Regions from separate parts of the Homo sapiens genome. Here region 1 is linked to region 2. The links are contacts of gene promoters, found by promoter capture Hi-C in human tissues and cell types (Jung and others, 2019). All regions are on one chromosome and are shown on one strand. The core of a region is centred on a gene start or on the middle of the fragment in contact, and the rest is flanking DNA. Distances in the headings are between cores, read along the strand shown. Region 1 holds the start of LOC105374262 (a long non-coding RNA gene). Region 2 holds the start of RTP1 (receptor transporter protein 1).

Region 1 (6,910 bases), core at 1,990-4,489, 340 kb before region 2:
TATTTTAGAGTGTGTCTCCTTCTACTTATATACTTTTTAAAATTTCACTGTAAAAGAGACCCAGGCAGGTCCTGCCGGAGGTATTTGAGGAAGGGTTGTTATGGACGGAGATGGCAACTCCATGCCTGCTGTTGCTCCTGAAGACCTTCCAGCGGGACAAGATGTGGAGGTGGAAGATAGACACTGATGATCCTGACCCTGTGTAGGACTAGGCTAATATGTGTATCTGTGCCTTAGCTTCTAACAAAAAAAATTTAAAGAGTTAAACAAAAATAGAAAATAATAAATAGAAAGAAGCTCATATAAAAAGGACATAAAAATATTTTCATGCAGCTCTTCAATGTGGCTGTGTTTTAAACTGTTTTTAGAAGAGTTAAAAAGTTAATAAAAGTTAAAAGCTTTAGAAAGTTAAAAATTTACAATAAGCTAAAGTTAATTTATTATTGAAGAAATTAAAAATTTTAAATAAATGTAATGTAGCCTAAGTGTGCAGTGTTTATAAAGTCTACAGTAGTGTGCAGCAATGGCCTAGACCTTCACATTCACTCACCATTCACTCACTGACTCGCCCAGAGCAACTTCCAGTCCTGCAAGCTCCATACATAGTAAGCGCCCTGTACAGGTGCAGCAGTTTTTATCTTTTATATTGTATTTTTACTATACCTTTTCTATGTTTAGATGTGTTTAGATACACAAATACTTTCGATTGGGCTACAATTGCCTGCAGTATTCAGCACAGTAACATGCTGTACAGGGTTGTAGGTTTGTAGGAGCAATAAGCTGTACCATAGAGCCTCGGTATGTGGTAGGCTATACCATCTAGGTTTGTGTAAGGACATCATAATATTTGCACAACAATGCACTCGCCTAATGCAGGGGTCCCCAACCCCCGGGCCACGGACAGGTATGGGTCTGTGGCCTGTTAGGAACCAGGCTGTACACCAGGAGGGGAGCAGCAGGTGAGCGAGCATTACCACCTGAGCTCTGCCTCCTGTCAGATCGGGGCGGCATTAGATAATCACAGGAGCTCAACGCCTACCCCTATTGTGAACTGCACACATGAAGGATCTAGGTTGCGGCTCCTTACGAGAATTTAACGCCTGATGACCTGAGATGGAACAGTTTCATCCCGAAACCATCCCCCCACCACCCGCACCACCCAGACCACTCATCCATGGAAAAATTGTCTTCCATGAAATCGGTACCTGGTGCCACAAAGGTTGGGGACTGCTGACCTAATGACACATTTCCCAGAACATATCCCTGTCATTGATACCTCTCGGGTTCAATTTTTATCTCTGCGGAAATGGGAACTGTGCAGGTTAAATGAGGTACTGTGACACTATGGGCCACATGAGACTGCACATGCCCCAAACTGCCGTAACCACGGAGGATTTCCTGGTGACGCAGAAGCTGTGTATTATAGAACACAGTGCTGCCAAATGAAGAAAAGATATTCAGCTCAAGCATAATCAAAAAAATTTTTTTTCTGCTAAAATTATGAGGGGTACAACCCCTTTCTCTTCAAGCAGCAACTGGGCAGAGCTCATGGGCATAGGGCCCAGCACACAGGCATGGATGCTGTCAGGACACAGGGGCACTGAGCCATTGTTCTCAGAAACCACCATTGTGACGTCATTCCCACATAAAAACTAATTATTGTCATGGATTTTATTTTAAAATATTAGACGGAATCAAAGCTTCCTAAACAAAACACTTGAACAAATCTATAAGCAAAACTTAGGACTATTTCTGCTAACTGAAACGAACCTCCCTGTTATGAAGAACTTGATCTTTTTTTTTTTTTTTCTTTTGAGACGGAGTCTCGCTCTGTCGCCCAGGCTGGAGTGCAGTGGCGCAATCTCAGCTCACTGAACCTCCACCTCCCGGGTTCACACCATTCTCCTGCCTCAGCCTCCTGAATAGCTGGGACTACAGGCACCCACCACCACGCCCGGCTAATTTTTTTTATATTTTAGTAGAGACGGGGTTTCACCATGTTCGCCAGGATGGTCTCGATCTTCTGACCTCGTGATCCACCCGCCTCGGCCTCCCAAAGTGCTGGGATTACAGGCGTGAGCCACCGCGCCCAGCCAGAACTTGATCATTTTATTGCCCCATGTGTGGCAGAGGACAGTCCAGGGAACACCAAAAGGATTATTACAGCATGAATTATTCTAGAGGTAGCAGCATCGGGACAAACTAACTTCTCTTAGCCACACTATTACCCATTTCTTGGTGATGAGGCAATCAGAAATGAATGCCAGAACCTCTTTGTATTCAGATTTACATTTCGGTCAACCATAGAGAAAAAGGAAATAGTTTTGTATTTCTTTGACTTAGTTTGGTCAATCTTGATCAAATTATCTTTTGCCTTTATAAAATCCTGAGTTTACAAGTCTTCTGGGTGTAGACATAGATACATATTCAGACTGGTGGGCAGTCCAAATGTGAGAATTTTATTTAAAATCTTGGCCCTCAGCTGGGCAACCATAGATTGCTATACGCCTTAGAGAAAATTGACTAAGTCAAGAGTTATTTCTGTCTTACTGAGCACCAAGCCTGATACATTCAGTTTCCTCTCCTTTTCTTTAAGCACCACAAAAGAAAAGGTTTCTTTTGATACGATTTATTATGGTACTTTTCAGGTGGACAAGGAGTGACACAGGGTGGAGGAGTCACATCACACTTCCTTAAATCAATGTCTTGTCATCAAACTCTCATTGCATGGGAACGTAAGTAGTGGGGCTTAGGCTATGAATATAAAGAAATGTCTTCTCAATAAATAACTCCTCCCAGGTGTTAGTACCATCTTCTGGAGTTGAAATAAGCCTTTGTTTTATGCCTTATGCTAGAAATAAAAGTCCTAACATCTTTAAAAACTCAACATACTATTTTCCTTTCCATTCTTCTGAGCTAAAGAAATAAAATGAGTTGTATGGGGCAGTCATAAGCTGGTTCTGATTTTAGGGCTAACAATATCTAAGCAGATGTCTGGAGTTAGACATCTCTTAATTTTCTTTGAGCCTCAGTTTTCTCATCTTCAATAGGAAATTGGGAATCTCAGTCCAATAATTTTTTTTTTTGCAAAAATCAAATGAGATTTCGCTCCAAAGGCAATCTGCAAAGTAAATTGCTATAGGAGAATAAGTATTATTATTATTAAGATCCATTTTATTAAGACCAAGTATACAGTTTCTAGGTAGCAAAGAGTCCTTATGGTTTGGTGAATAAATGGCCATTTGACTAAAAGACTATTTTCCTCCTCTTTTATTCCCCATTAGGGGAAGTTAATTTCTTTGGAAGCAACAATGCTCACTTGAAATCCTTTAAAGATTCTCCATTTCCTATGAATCAAGTATAACCTACTCATGTTGCCAAATCAAGGCATTCATAGTACTGTCCAAAACTCTTTTTCAGGACTTATATTTCAATATTTTCATTATACCTAACAAATAAGGTGAACTCACCTGTCTCTGTTCTCCGACTCTACCTTAGATGTCCTTCTGTGAATTTTCTCAAGCTGCTTCCTTAACCCAGGAAACTTTCCCATCAATCTTTCCTTAATTATATTTTCTATCTTCTTAAGGCTCATTTTTGAAATAATATTCTTCATGAGGCTAATTCAATAATTCCCTTCCAGACATGAATTTTATTTCCTTTTCTAGGTCCTTATTTTTCTTTTCCCATCTCACCAATCTCTTCCTGTCCCCTGGTTCCTCCCTGTGACCCAAATGTCAGCTTAGAGTCTCTAGTTTTTGATATTCAAATGAAGAGACTCCTGTCCCACACTACATGCAGTGAGACTGATACATTCCACCTTATTCACCGGTTATGGGAGGAGGAAGGATGATGATTTCTGCTATCTTTAGTTGCCTATGCCTCTGAATCTACTCAAGATAAATTCAGATAAGTTAGCATAGTTTGTAGTTTGTCTTGTCATTGTACACAAGATGTCCTGGCTCAGCTTCGGATTGCCCCAGGCATGGAACACAGCTTCCTTTCCTTATTTTCTCATGCCCTCCACCCTCAGCGCTCCCCAGGTATCACTCACGTTAGGAATGTGTGGTGGAGCAGAGGACCAGAGATAAGGAAGGCACAGAGAGAAACAGAAAGCACTTGAGAGCTACAGGAGGATCCCCTCAAATCCTGAACATTAACCTGCGCATACGTTGGGTGAAACTCCTAAGGCTGGACATGAGGTATTGGTAGAGCCTTTGAAAGGACATGCTGTAGTAGTAAGGCTAAATTAATGCCAGAGTAAATGCTGATCTGTACCCATTGTAACAAAGCTTAAAAGAAGGATTCAGAATAATCGAACCAATCTGCAAGTAATTTAACTGTGTGCCATAACAAAGACCAACACTCTTTAAAGAAATACAACTAAATCACAAAACCAACAAATACATGAGACCTGACATCCAATAAAAAATTTCCCAGCATGCAAAAAAGAAACATGAAAATATAACCCATAATAAGGAGAGAAATAAATCAATAGAAAAAGACTCAGAAATGACATTAATAAAGGTAATAGCAGACAAGGAACTTGAAATAGCTATTATAAATATTCAAAAAGATATATAATAAAACATAAACATGATAAAATACAAGATATTTTTAAAATATCTAAATGAAACTTTTAAGATGAAAAATATATCAAAAATGAAAAATACGCTAGATGAGATTCAGAACCATTTAGACACCACAGGAAAAAAACAGTAAACTTAAAAACATAGCAATAGAAACCATCCAAAATGAAGCACATATAGAAAAATAAAGACTGAAACAAGTGGACAAAGCTTCTGTGAGTGTAGGATAATATAAAGTTTTCTAAGATAAGTAAATTGGAGTTACAGAAAAAGAAGAGAAAGATGAATGACACATAAAAAGATCTGAAGAAAGAACAGCTAAAGGTTTTCCCCTCAAATTTGGTTAAAACTATAAGTTTACGGATTACGTGTTTCAGTGAACCCCAGGCAGACTATTAAACACACACGCACACACACACGCACACACGCAAATCATAATCAAATTGGTGAAAAGCACATAAAAATTTAAAAATATTAGCAACCAGAGAATACAGGGACATTATACAGAAAGGAGCAAGGATAAAAATTACAGCAGATTTCTTGTTGAAGATGACATAAGCCAGAAGGCAGTGGAGTGGGATGGAGAAGTCAATGTCCATTTCTACACCCAGAAATGAAACCTTCTGAAACAATGAAAGCTGAAAGAATGTGTCACCAACAGAACCTGACTACGTACAAGTCCTTAAGGGAAAAATCACACCTTTAATCTGGATTATTTCTCTCTTTCTATGATTGTGTAGTTTCCTCTATCAGACCCAGCAATCCATGTTTTATGTTGGTGGTTCCATGTTACTTCTACCAACAGGTACAACATATGTTGCAGACCTGGCCACTTATCCTGAGGTCAGGTTGGTTAATTTCCAGGATGTAAACCTGTATCTGAGTGTTCCTGGCTTCCTACTCCTGCAGATACACAGAACCCTCTGGAGGCCACACTCAGTGTCATCTTGTTTTACCCTATCCCATAGGCAGGTGATCCCTGCTTTAGGCAGTGCGCATGGGATCCACACATGGTCCTCTTTTAGACCTATTCTCTATAGAAACAGACTTTCAGCTATGACGGCTGTTTCCAGATTCAGAGCCTAGCATCCCTGGATCTTGTACCCTCTTTCCTACCTCCCATTTCATCCAACTTTTCTCTTCCTGGGTCCTCTTCTAGGTGAGTGGCACAAAAATGCACCTGCTATATCACACTGAAACCTGAGACTCAGCTTGACTCTTCCAATTCCACTGTGTGACTAACGGTTTTCAAACTTCTCTTGAGTCTGTCAATTTCTCTCCTTTTTCTTACCAGCCACCTTAGCTAATTCCCTCCCATTTTTTAGCTGTAGCTCAACAGTGCCTCCTGGTCCTCCCACATCCACTCAACTCATTGTCCAGTGATGCCATAGTGACCTCCTTGGTTCAAATCTGATGACATCACTCATCTGAGTAATGTCTCTTCATTCTCTTTAAAGTAAAGTTGAAGCTTTTTAAGATCTTTAATCAGCTCTTTTTTTTTTTATTGCTGCAACCTCATCTCTCATCATTTGTTGCCTCCAACTTTTACTGTGACCATTAAACGATGAAAATTTCTGAATGTTCCATGTTCTCTTTTGCTTCCAGGATTTGCAGAAATTGTTCTGCCTTCTTGAAGCGTTATCCTTCTTCATCTATTGAATGTGTCATCACCTCCCCAGTAAAGCCTTTCCTGATCTCCCTAGCCTTGATTAAGTGCTCCTACTCTGTTCTTCAGCTTGTGTTGCACTGATTCAGGTGGTGCTAATTGCACTATATTTACTTCTGCTTCCACAAATAAAACTGTGAACAACTTGAGGGCAGGAGCTTTCCATCACCTAGCATGGTATCTGATACATTGTTGGTGCTCACAGAGATTTGTGGAATAAATAATGGCCATTAAGTATTAACTTAATGTCATTATTAATTCTTATAACCCCACCACACCTATCACAGTGCCTGGCACATATTGATCACTTAGCACATTTAGTAACATTAAGCAGCCATTGATCACTTACTATGTATCTCACATATTATAATGCCCTTTTGTAAATGTGATCTCATTTAAACTTATCAGCCCATCCCTCCCTAAATAAAGCATGTTTTATTATCCTCAACTAAAAGGTCAAGAAACTAAGGCTAAGAAATATTACATAGCTTTCTCAGGGTCAAATCAACATCAGAAATGGTGTTCAAGCCCAGCTTCTCTTTCCAGTTGAAGAAAGTACCTGTCCAAGAAAACTCTGTCCAAACTGATCTTTATCAGGTTTATTTAAGGGAAAATAACTGAATGTCTTTGCTATATATTTCCCCAGTAAAAAGCA
Region 2 (6,689 bases), core at 2,798-5,297:
ACCAATAGCTCATTACAGATCTGGGACAGTGGGGGAATCTCAAACACACATTAATGACTACTAAGCCTTATGGAAGATATCCTGTCTTTATTAAAGTGTCCCATCTTTATATAAGTGACCCCCTTCCTCCATCACTACAGATGATGGTGACTTTCTATTAAAGAGGAGAGTAGTCAAGTTTTTAACAGAGGTGGGGTAAATGAGGCCCCTCAAAAGTGCAGCTTGCTGCCTGTCCCCACCAATTCCATTCCAGACCCCCCACTGTCAGAAAGTGTCTCCTCCCATTTCAAGCCATATCACATCTCATTTTAGAGCCTTGTAAGGTTCTCCCACATATCTGTGCACTTCCCCATGGACAAAGCATTTTACATCTTTAACGCCCTCTCTCTTGCTGAAGATACCCCATCCCTGTGGCTTTAGGGGGACAGCTGATCTTTGGCAAGAGGCCTCATGCTTGGCCAATGTGAGAAAGCCATTCAACTATAATTTCAGCAAAGAACCCAGGAGGCCAGGCCCCTGCTCCTGAATTCTGGCCATCAGCACTGCTGAGAATCTGCTAGACTTGGTCCCCGAACTCTGAAGACCCTCCATTATAATGCCTCCCAGAGATTTTGTGCTTTGCTTCTAAAACTCTGTCTTCTGAACCTCCCCTAAATTCTCTGCCAGTTAATACGCAGTGGGTGAGAAGCCTAACTCTATGAGACCCCACCCCAACCACCATCTTTCAGGCAGGCAGACCCCAGAATCTGCCCTGAGTGGAAAGAAGCTGGAATCTGAGAAACAAAAAAAAGAGACCCTGTGTACCTGGCAGCAAAGGAACAGCCTGATCTCCCACCTCTTGCACTTCAAGGGAAACCTCTGCTGCGTGTGTGAAGGCAGAATCACGGATGAGGCTCACAGGGTGGGCAAAGAAGCTAATTTAAGGCTGCAGCTAGAGAAAGTGGGAGATCATGAGGGGCAGGGGTGAGGGACTAATAAGAGCAAGGTCGAGCTCATTACTGTGGAAAGCCCTTTTGAGATCACCCAGTCCTCTAATTTTCAAACTTTTTAAAAGTAGTTAAACTTTTTTTTTTTTTTTTTTTGGTACAAAAATCTTAAATGGAACCCTATCTAAAGTAAAGCTGTTCTGATCGAAGCAAGAGGAGGAGGTAGGAGTTGGAGGATGGGTGTTTAGATCAGGAGTTGGAGACACCCACTAGCTTAGCCTACTTTCCAAATCCAAAAGTCCCTGAGGCACCTACGCAGAACTTTGGGGTCCTGGGTTTCACTATGATAAACCAATGATCTTGCCCAAACCCTGAGTTTTATAGATGGAAAAACTGTATAATTTGTCCAAGATCCCCACTGAGTCAGTGACATCACCAGCGCTAGAAGTTTACACTATTCTCAACCCACGTCTCTCCTCTACCCTCGCATCAGCTAACTGGCACCCTCGACAGGCTCTGGGCCCAACCACGGAATCTTATACGGAGCTACGGAAAGAGAACTGCAGGTAGATGATCAGCAGCAGGACCGTGGCCCAAAACAAGCACCAGGGGATAGAGCAGAAGTTCCAGCCTGAGCCCGTCTGGTCCTGCGACTTGGTGGGGCTGGGCGCCCGGGAGAAGGTGTAGGTGGTCGCCTCCTCCTCCAGCAGCTTCTCGCTGGGCTTCCAGTGCACGATGCCCTCCTGGCAGGCCTCGCAGAACTCTCCGCGGTGCCGCCGGTTGTCCTGGCGGCTGGCCACGTGGATGCGGTACTGGCCGCCACGCTCGCCGTAGCACTGCTCGCGCAGGCTGGTGATGAGGTTGTCCACCAGGCCCTCGATGTTCTCCTCCAGCATGCTGGACTCGTCCAGCCGCGCCGTGCCGCACTCATAGCACAGCTGCTTGAAGACGCGCATGCGCACCGAGCCCGCCCGCTGGGCGCGGTCCAGGAACATGTGGAAGAGGATGACCACGTAGGGCGACTGCCAGGTGTGCCAGCACCAGGAGCAGTGGAACCTGCGGAGACGGGAGGAGAGGGAGGAATAGAAGACGGGCGGAGGTGGTGGAAACAGCCCTAGGAATGGCGTGAGGGGACGTGGAGGCTAAGCAGAGCCTGGAGGTGGAGGAAGTGTGTTGCCGGCGCCCTGGGTTCATTAGCTTTCCCCAGGAAGCCACTCAGCCTTGCAAGTGCCCCTAGGACTACAGCAGGTTCCTCAGGATGTCACCGGGCATCCAGCAGTGCTCTACCTCCTCAGTGCTTTCCAGAGGCCTAACTCCCACCACCCCAGCATTGGGCGTCATTCTTATTCCTCATGGGCAAAATGCGCTTGGTGCACTAGGTGAGTCCTTCCTTCTCACACCAGATAAGAAACACATAATCCATCTGCACATTTCTATCTGTTAACACTGACTGTGAACAGGCTAGATCCAAATTAGGAGAAAATGACACCATTACTAGCTATCAACGTCCAGGCCAGTGTCAGAGTTAATGCATCACAAGGCCTGGAGGTGGAGGCAGTCTGTGCCCAGATCCCCAAGGCCTGTAGTCTCCCAGGCCTGACTGGGGCCAGCTGGGGATTACAGGTCCCCAGCCAGGTCTGGGGCAGCCACAAGCCCTCCCCACTCAGCCCCCACAGCCTTCCAGGTCTTCAAGAAGCTCCTGATCCTGCCTGTAAGTGTCCAGCCCTTGACACCCCTCCTGTCAGCCAGTTTAGGAGCTTCACATTTTCATTCTCTTCTTGTTCACACATCTTTTGGGGACTGTTTCCTCTCTCAGACCAGACTACAAAACCTGGATTGAAAAATGTCGTAACTAGAGGGACCTGGAAATCACCTAATTAATGTTTTCTTTTATGCTGAGACAGAGTGAGAGAGGCATCCATGTACACACAGCTAGAGGCAGAACCGGCGCCCAGCACGTAACAGGTGCCCAGTAATGTTTCCTGAATTGAAGTGAATTGGCTGAACCAGGGCAAGCAGGAAGGCCTTGCTTCTGACTTCCAGGCTGCACCACTCAGCCTCCCCATCTTATGTCTCAAAGGTAAGCCCCTACACTCTGGACCCATGAACAAGAGTGCTAGAAATTCATCTCAGATAGTTTTTACATACTAATCACCTAGAACTCTTCTTGAAATCAGATTCTGATTCAGATCTAAAAGGGGCCCAAGATTCTGCTTTCTTAACAAATTCCAGGTGATGCCGATCCTGCTGCTCTGTGGACCACAGGCTAACCTCTCACTGTGCAAAAGGAGAAAGCCAGGTCCAAGAAGAAAATCGAGTTCCTCAACAGCCATGGAGCCAATGATAGAGCCAGTTTCTGGCACATCTCATGTATTCAATATTTTAAGTGAAATTAAGTTGAGTTAAATAGATTTAAACCGGTCCCAGGACCAGAGCACGGACGTCTCGACCCCCAGTGGGCCTCAAACCCTTCTTCTCTGGTTTTAAACTACTTTTTAAGAGACTGTTAAAATAGAAAATATGTAAAATGTCAGTGTGTAGGACTCATACGTATATTCTATGTCTTTATTTTCCAGACGGAAAAATTGTGACTCAGAGAGGAAGAGTAACACAGGTGATCAGTAGAAGAGCTGAAATCCAACTCAAGTGTCGTAGTTCCCAGTTAGGGACTCTTTCTCTGACTTCCAGTCTACGCCAGCCTAATAGTGAGATTGAAGCTAAACACTTGGGTTCTACGTAATCTTCCTCTCCTTGGAAGGTGCCCCAGAGCTAGGGACCTAGAGGCGGCCTGCAGGGATCCACCTTCCTGGGCTACTCACCTGCCTGAAGCATGCAATTCCAGGTACTGCTTCCAACCAGGGCTCAGCACATTGTGCTTGAGGTTGGGGTCTATGATGAGGTCCCAGCTGTCAGCCGGCTTTGCCTCCTCCATCTTCTCATAGAAGACTTTCTTCCACTCATCTGTGGTCACGCTTTTACACATGGTCTCGTCAGTAGTGAGGGAAGGCAATTTCCACCTTAGTGAGAACACGGAGAGTGAGGGTAGGTGCAGGGCAGGGCAGCGCAGTCTCCACGGTCTAAAAATCCTCATCGACAAGACCAGGAGGAAGCAGGACCCAGCTCCCTCCTTTGTCCGCAGTGGAACCTGTTTCCACGGCAACCAGGCAGGTTGCCAGAAGACAGAGCTTGGGGAGGAGGGAGTCTCTGAAGAGGTGTTTCAAGGCCCTGAACTGAGATTGCAGAGGCAGAGTTTGTGGGTCTAAATGATCCAAGACAGAGTGGGGGACCTGACCAGAGATTGAGCTTCAGACCATCTCACCCTGGCCTGGAAAGAGTATGGGGAGGTGAGGACTGGGAACTGGCTCAGTTTCACCTTGCCGTCCCCTGGAGGCATCATCAGCATCTGGCTGCTACGGTAACCATGATGCCTTAGGCAGCCAAGGAGAAATGAGGGATGGGGAGATGTAAATTTGTTAGTAGATGGAGCAATAATAATAAACTCTCTCTCGGCTTCCCCAGCCATCTTGTGACCAGCACTTTGCCATTTTCAAAACACAATTGGAGGTCTCTTAAGTTATGATTACTATTGCTGCAGTACAGATCAGGAGCCTAGGACTCACCTAGCCTATAAATGGCGGAGCCTGTATACAAATTCAAGCTGTTGACCCCAGACCGGTTCATTAATTCATTCATTTCAAACATATCCGAGCATGTGGGTAGGGTTTGCAGACATGTGCCAAGCTCTATGTCAGTGCTTGTAGCTGACTGTGTACTGAATAACTGTGCAATAGGATCCATGCTGCAATGGCCTTGTGCAAGAACAGCCACCTGTGCACAAAGGTAGGAGCATTGCATCAGCCAGGCAGGAGCAGACAAGATTATTTCCAAGCTGATTATAGAAGCGCAGAAGAGGAGCACCACCCACAGGCAAAACAGCCTTTACTATACATGCCTCTGCTGCTATTTTTAATAAATTATTTTTCCTTTTAAAAAATCATATGGGTTTATTCTAGAAAAAATACAAAATATAGATGAAAGAAAAGAGAAGTAAGACTCTTCCATAAAACCCCACCCGAGATGACTACTGTTAACATTACGATATGTACATCCCGCTTACCATTTTTCTGTACATGTACAAGTGTATGTGTGTGTATATACACACACATTCTGTACACCACATACATTCTATATACCACATTGTGACATTTTCAAAAAATAATACGTCATGAATATTTTTCTAGGTCATATTCCGTAGTAGTACATTATGGGCTACCTATATTCTGTTATATGGATAGGCATAATTTATTTAGCCAATCCTGTCTTTTAGGGCATTTTGGTTTTATTTCAGTTTCTCACATTACACTCTTCCCATCTATTTGTATAAACTTGTTGACGAAGCTCATCGCATGCATTAGAAACAACACTTCCTACAATTGGAAAACACGTCTCTTGACTCCACTCTCTCCAAAAGCTTGGTGTGGCTAGCAGAATCTGAGCAGGCTCTTCAAACAGTATGAATTTTGGACAGCCAGCAGATCTTGAAGTTTAGTGATGAAAAAGAGGGACTTAAAATCACCCATCTGATACCAGAAACCATCTTCCAAGTGCTTCTCCTGCCGCTTCATGGATGTTTGATGCCTTGATTTACACTATTTTAACCTCAGTTTATTCATCTTCTCAGTGGGATAATAACAAAACAGTATCTGCTGTGATTAAAAGCAGGGGCTTTAGAATGGCTTGCCTGGTTGTGGTGTTGTTGTTGTTGTTGTTGTTGTTACAGAGTCTCGCTCTGTTGCCCAGGCTGGAGTGCAATGGCACAATCTCGACTCACTGCAACCTCCACCTCCCAAGTTCAAGTGATTCTCTTGCCTCAGCCTCCCAAGTAACAGGGATTACAGGCATGCGTCACCACACCTGGCTGATTTTGTATTTTCCGTAGAGATGGGATTTCACCATGTTGGCCAGGCTGGTCTCAAACTCCTGACCTCAGGTGATCTGCCTACCTTAGCATCCCCAAGTGCTGGGATTACAGGCATGAGTCACCGTGCCTGGCTGCTTTTACAAAAAAAAAAAAATTTCCATATAGACTCATAGGTAGCAATTCTAATGTATATAATCTGTATCTTTTCATCCTAGTAAAAAATACGTGTTAATGTTTTATGTGAATATAATTTTAATTTGCATAGTAACAGCAATCACCATATAGCACTTACTATATAGCAATCACTATACAGCACTTACCTGGTAAGTGCTTAGAAAGCATTGTTCTGGTGCTTTATAAATATTAATTTATTTCATTCAATAACAAACTTGACAGGTAGGTAACAGCAGCAGCAGCTCCATTTTACAGATATGTGAGCTAAAGTCTAGAGGTTAGATAACTTGCACAAGATTTAACAGCTAATAACTAGTTGAACTGGGACTTAAACCTATATGACTGTCTACAAAGCCCCAGCTTTAGCCATTGTGATGCTCAGCGTGGAATCTAGAACATAACATCTGCTAATTAAATGTGTGTTTCTTCATCACTCACGTGGCCGTTACAGACCCCAAGAATTGCAAATGAAGTTTATATCATTTCAGCAAATGGTTCACTGGGGCCCCCCCACACTGAGGCCACATCTCCCCAGAAGAGGGGTGAGTTGTACTTGACCCACCAGGCTCCCTGCTACTGCTGGGGATGCTGCCTCTACTGCCAAACTTAATGAAGCAATGGTGTCCACAGACCCCTGATACTCGGTATAAATATTTTAGAGCTGAGAG

Evidence for each region. The method cuts DNA at HindIII sites, captures the fragments that hold promoters and counts their contacts. A contact is called where the count stands out against the background at its distance.
Region 1: a fragment that was not itself captured here is called in contact with the fragment with the promoter of RTP1 in region 2 in 2 of the 25 tissues and cell types used here (spleen and stomach).

Annotation. Positions count from the first base shown.
Region 1 is chr3:187,531,111-187,538,020 of GRCh38, reverse strand. It overlaps LOC105374262 (a long non-coding RNA gene), which reads left to right and starts at 2,077. Exons shown (of 6, transcript XR_007096211.1): 1 at 2,077-2,183; 2 at 2,649-2,735. The HindIII fragment of the contact is 4,379 bases long and covers 1,050-5,428 here.
Region 2 is chr3:187,194,844-187,201,532 of GRCh38, reverse strand. RTP1 (receptor transporter protein 1) reads right to left here and starts at 4,047. Exons shown (of 2, transcript NM_153708.3): 1 at 3,746-4,047; 2 at 71-1,982. The coding sequence starts at 4,017. The coding sequence ends at 1,463. LOC101929106 (a long non-coding RNA gene) reads left to right here. Exons shown (of 5, transcript NR_110052.1): 3 at 1,420-2,305; 4 at 2,831-3,006; 5 at 3,503-4,443. The HindIII fragment of the contact is 12,407 bases long and covers 1-6,226 here.